Linked DNA regions of Homo sapiens: region 1 is linked to region 2. The links are contacts of gene promoters, found by promoter capture Hi-C in human tissues and cell types (Jung and others, 2019). All regions are on one chromosome and are shown on one strand. Each heading gives the region's core, a stretch centred on a gene start or on the middle of the fragment in contact. The rest is flanking DNA. Distances are from core to core; before and after follow the strand shown. Region 1 overlaps PAX3 (paired box 3). Region 2 holds the start of CCDC140 (CCDC140 long non-coding RNA).

Region 1 (2,700 bases), core at 65-2,564, 52 kb before region 2:
CCTGTAATCCCAGCACTTTGAGAGGTTGAGGTGGGCAGGTAACTTGAGGCCAGAGGTATGAAACCAGCCTGGCCAATGAGGCAAAATCCCGTCTCTAATGAAGATACAAAAATTAGCTGGATATGATGGTGCACACCTGTAATCCCAGCTATTCAGGAGGCTGAGGCACGAGAATCACTTGAAACTGGGAGGCAGAGTTTGCAGTGAGCTGAGATCATGCCACTGCACTCCAACCTGGACAACAGAACGAGACTGTCTCAAAAAAAGAAAAAGAAAAGAAATAGAATAAAATTAAGGTAGCTATGAAAGTAAATAAATTCAGTGCTCCCAAATACCTCAGGGCCTAAACAGGAAGGCCAAGCTTAACAAAAGTCAGGCAACCAGCCTAAAAGAAATTAAGCACATGCCAACATTTAGTTTGATTTTCATGGGGAAAACCTGAATATATTTGCTTGGAGGCAAATTCTTGTCTTCTCTATGTCTACTGATATGGATCTGCACAGGCAAAACAAAGTATAATTGTGAGCAATTCACCTTCTGATCATTTTTATTAGTGTCCACAACCAATGTGAATAGGTCAGGTACCCAACACCAGAAAAACACAAGAATTTCTTCAGTAGCAGGTTTCTGCATGAATTATTGGACAACTGCCTTTCTTTTCCACATTGCCTTTTCAGGGACAATCTTGCAGAACTGGAGGGAAATGAATAAGGAAGTGATATGTGGGAGAGAGTAAAGGAGGGGAGGAGAGAAGAGAAAATAACTGAAGAGAATAAAAGAGGGGAGAAAGAAGAGAAGAGAGGCCAGGCACTGTGGCTCACACCTGTAAACCCAGCACTTTGGGAGGCCAAGGCAAGTGGATCACCTGAGGTCAGGAGTTTGAGAACAGCCTGGCCAACATGGTGAAACCCCATCTCTACTAAAAATACAAAAAAAAAAAAAAAATTAGCCGGGTGTAGTGGGGCACACCTGTAATCCCACTTACTCCGGAGGCTAAAGCAGGAGAATCATTTGCACTCTGGAGGCAGAGGTTGCAGTGAGTTGAAATCATGCCACTGCATTCCAGCCTGGGTGACAGAGCGAGACTCTGTCTCAAAAAGAGACAGAGAGAGAGAGAGAAGGATCAACTTTCCTTTCTAGCAAAGAAGGATAGAAAATAAAGCAATAGGTGGTTTCAGAGTCAATGGGTTCACCATGACCACTTTTTCCCCAAAATTCTCCTCTGACAAGGCTTTCTGAGTTAGGAAAGCCTGCTCTGAGGGACTGAAGTTGAGGCTGAGGATCTGACAATGTGTCCTAATCCCTGGCAACTTTAAATAAATTAAAGCTTTTCCTGGGTAAAAACCAAAAGTAGCCCCACTCGTTCTTCCCACCCACACCAGCCCATGGTTTTAACTGGAAATCATCCCATCACTATGTCAAGACAGATGCCAACATTTAAAGAAACTACTGCCAATTCAGTTCAAACTCAAGCTCATTCTTCACCACCCAATTTACATGTTCGTTCCTAAGAAAAGCTTTTTGAGCAAAATATGTTTCTTATTTCATTGTGCGTTTTTGTTTTCATACTACAAAAGTACATTACATTATAAAATAAAATTTGAGCAATGTCTAAAAATAAAAAATAATGATAGTCCCAGAACCAAAAAGAATTGCTATTGATTTTAAATTAGAGAATTATATTATACAGATGGATGGGTGGATGGATGGATGGATGGATGGATCAATAGATCAATAGATAGATATAGACAGATCCAACTCCTTTGCTGTGTTTCTTCGCATTCTTTTTTTCTGTGTAATTATTAACAAAATATAAGTTTTTAAAAACTTTCTTAATTACACATTAAAAAGGTAAATAAAACTCTTTCCTCCAGCAAGTTTTCAAGTGAATTTATCCTTGTTATTTTAGCAATAGCACAAGTTGCTTGGTTAATAGTATTGTTTATATTTGAAAATTTAACTTTCTTAAAGTTGTTTTCTGAGATTATAAAGCACTACTCCTTTTGATTTGTTCATATTTACCTGTGAATGCATTTGGATGGCCAGATATGAAAATTTGCCAATTTCTCTATATGAGGGCTGAGACAAATGCACATATATTCTCATTGTCTTTGTATAACTCAGGTGTCTAATTCATCCAAACAAACATTGAACCCACTTATACATCTCTCCTTCTATTCTCACAATAAGTTAGCCACAAGTTTAAGAAAGCTTGTCCAGGGCTGGGTCATCAGAGATTGTTGTCCTTACAGCATCCCTCCCAAGTCCATGTCTTTATTCCTATTCAGGCCTCAATGAAGTAGGAGGGGGCTCTTCAAATATTTTCTTCTTTCTGATAGAAGAAGCTAGAGCAGGATGAGAGTGTGAATGGCTGAGTTTAAGCCTCTGCACAGAGAGAGTGACAAGAGAAGAAAACCAGTGGAAGCACAGGAAGACAAATCCCAGGTAACTAACAATGTAACTAAATTGCAGGGAGAAAATTAGAAATAGTTTTTTAAAATTTTTTCCCACTATTAGTCAGAGACGTTCATGTTTTGTGCTAAATGTGCTGCTTAGCATAGAATTTTAAAACCTAGAAATCACTTTAAATATCAGCAGAAAACTCTTTACTCTAGATTTGAAAAACTCAAGAAACAAAAACTGAGTTTCAGAGGAATGAAATGATACCTCCATCATCAACTGGCTTGGTGGCAAGTTAAA
Region 2 (2,700 bases), core at 1-2,500:
CAGCCGTTACCCCCCGCCCGGTCTTCCCCAACACAGGGGACCACAGTCTGGGAGCCAGGAGGGCAAGGCCCGCCCGCTCACCTTGGGCTTGCTGCCGCCGATGGCACCAGGACGTATGGAGCCAGTCTCCTGGTACCTGCACAGGATCTTGGAGACGCAGCCGTGGGACACGCGCAGCTGGCGCGAGATGACGCAGGGCCGGATGCCGTGGTGGGCCATCTCCACGATCTTGTGGCGGATGTGGTTGGGCAGCGGCCTGCCGTTGATAAAAACACCGCCGAGCTGGTTGACGCGGCCCTGGCCGAGGGGAGTGGACACTGTGGGAAGGTGAAAAAGAGAAGCAAGGGAAAAGTCACTGGAGGAAAATAAAAAGCAAAGAACAGCAGCACGTAATTTCGCAGTCTTCTGTCCTATCCTCATGTTACAGCACCGACGCTGAAACTGCTCGACATCGGACTCCCAGACCCAGACCTCCTTTCAATCACATTTGTTCAAATTATTCAGCAATATAGCGCATGTAATCTTGTGTAAAGACAGCAAATGGGGCAAAATAATTCTCCCCAGAGAAAGCGTCTTCCCCTTCGGGCCCGGGGAGTGGCAACTTAGGAGACCCTGCAGCTGGTAGAGAGTCTAGCTTGCTCTAGAAACAGCCTCCTGGCGAAGAGAAGTTCACCCAGGAGCTGGCCTTGATGAACTCTGCTCCCACCGATCCCTGTCCAATTGGGATCTCTCCCTTTCTAAGGGACTTGGGCCAGCTGATAGCCCTTGGGGTTTCTAGCCAAAAGTGCAGCAGCCAAGGGTCAAAGAGGGTCCAGAAAGGAGGCCCAAGCAGCAGTGCCTGTGTCACCTGTTACATCTTGGGACAGAGACCACAGCAGCGGCAGGGCTGTTCCTGGGCCCCCAGCCCCCATTCTTGCTCTGGGTGTTACATTCTACTCTAGGCTGGGTGTGAAGGGAGTGGGTGGCGGGGGCGATGAGCATCTCTGCTGGGGCGCCCTAACCTGGAAAACCATTGAAAACGGCTCAGGCTTGCAAGACTTCCTGCCTCCCCGGGATTCCCAGAATCTTCAAGTGGACGGAAAGGCGATTCCTAAACAAGTTATAGAAACTTCTAGATGCTATTTGAGATACATAGAATTCTAATTTATTTAATTATTCTAAAAATTCCAATCACAATGGCGCGGCGTTAGCCACCACAACTTTGCAGGGCAAAAAAAAAAAAATACTTCCTGAACTAACATATGTTTCACAAGTGTGGGCGCAGCCGGGACAATTTCGAGACAACTTCGAGACAATTTCGAATGGACAAATTGCGGAGAAGTTGCTTCTGCCGCTCAGAAGCCGGTTCACCTCCTTCTCCACCGCGGCATTTCCAAAACAACAGGGACAAGTCTCCCCGGCTCGCCGCAGGCCTGACCGCCCAGCTCCGCCAGGATTTGCAGAGAGCAGCGCGCTCCATTTGCAGAAAGGAAATCGAGTAGGTCCTCGCCCCCGACTGGTGCTTCTTGGGGTGTGGGGTGCCCAGGGAATGGGCTTCCTGGAAGCACCAAAGGAGCCTGCGGAGCCTGGGGATGGGGTGAGGCAGCCGGTCCCAGGCCCTGGGATCCAGGCGGCGCGCTGAGGCCCTCCCTTACCTTCCAGCGGGAACCCGCTACGCGGGTAGTTCTGCCCCGGGCCCGGCCGCATCATCCTGGGCACAGCGCCGGCCAGCGTGGTCATCCTGGGGGCAGCTTCGCTCGGAAATTATATCCAGGTGAAGGCGAAACGGAAAGGCGAGTGCGGCGCGGATGACCCTCGGGAACTATCCGGAGCGTGGAGAGCCCCTCCCCAAAACGGCTGGAGAGAGAGGGAGGGACGCGGGGAGGGGGGCTGTCGGTTCCTAGTCCAGAGGCCGGAGCTGGAACCCGGGAAAGGGGAGGACGGGGAGGCCCCGGAGTCCAGGATCCCGAGCCCAGGGCGGAAAAGTTTGGTACGAGTCTGGGCAAATGTTCCAGCGACTGGGGTCCCTGAAAAGGGGGCTCAGAGAGCCACGGCGAGCCGGGGAGCCTGGTGAGGCTGGAGCGCGGCCTGCCTGAGTCTCCTCCTGTGGTGACACCGAGTGCGGGGATCCGGGCTCGGGAGCATTTATTAGTTCTTTTACCCAAAGCTTGGTCAGGAGCCCTGAGCTGCGATTGGCCGACGGGTAGACCGTCCCGGGTGGCGGAGACACGCGCTGATTGGGCAACAGCGACCACTTTCTCTTCCCATCTCTGGTGGTGCCGAGGCCTCTGCTGGCCCCGAGGGGGACCCGCGCTGCGCCCCTTGCCCAGGAGAGAAGGTTGGCCCGGTGGAAACTGAGAGAGACAGCCCCAGGGAGATGGCAGTTGCTGAGGGCGGAGAAGTTCCTGTCTCTCTGTCTCTGTCTCTCTGTCTGTGTCACTCTGTGTGTGTGTGTGTGTGTGTGTGTGTGTGTGTGTGTGTGTGTGTGTGTGTCTTTCTCTGATCACTCTTTCCTTGACTTTCTATTTCCCTCTCTGTCTCTTTCTGTGCCTCTGTGTGTGTGTCTCGCTCAGCCTCTATTCCTCTTGTGATTTCCTGTGTCTCTCTCTATGTCTCATTTTTTCTACCTGTAGGTCTCGCTCTCATTTCTCTTGGCTTACTGCCACTGGAGGGGGCACAATTCCAATAAGAAGGCATCTGGGGCCCCAGACATATTTAGCT

Evidence for each region. The method cuts DNA at HindIII sites, captures the fragments that hold promoters and counts their contacts. A contact is called where the count stands out against the background at its distance.
Region 1: a contact is called between a fragment that was not itself captured here and the fragment with the promoter of CCDC140 in region 2, in 1 of the 25 tissues and cell types used here (pancreas).

The regions. Positions count from the first base shown.
Region 1 is chr2:222,244,887-222,247,586 of GRCh38, forward strand. All of the region lies in intron 4 of PAX3 (paired box 3), which reads right to left. Among named protein-coding and RNA genes, the nearest start is that of CCDC140, 52 kb to the right of the region's middle. The HindIII fragment of the contact is 4,267 bases long and covers 1-2,700 here.
Region 2 is chr2:222,296,897-222,299,596 of GRCh38, forward strand. It overlaps CCDC140 (CCDC140 long non-coding RNA), which reads left to right and starts at 1,251. Exons shown (of 2, transcript NR_161172.1): 1 at 1,251-1,477. It overlaps PAX3 (paired box 3), which reads right to left and starts at 2,102. Exons shown (of 9, transcript NM_181458.4): 1 at 1,635-2,102; 2 at 82-317. The coding sequence starts at 1,719. RefSeq lists a promoter at 1,702-2,700 and a cis regulatory region at 2,120-2,157. The HindIII fragment of the contact is 9,119 bases long and covers 1-2,700 here.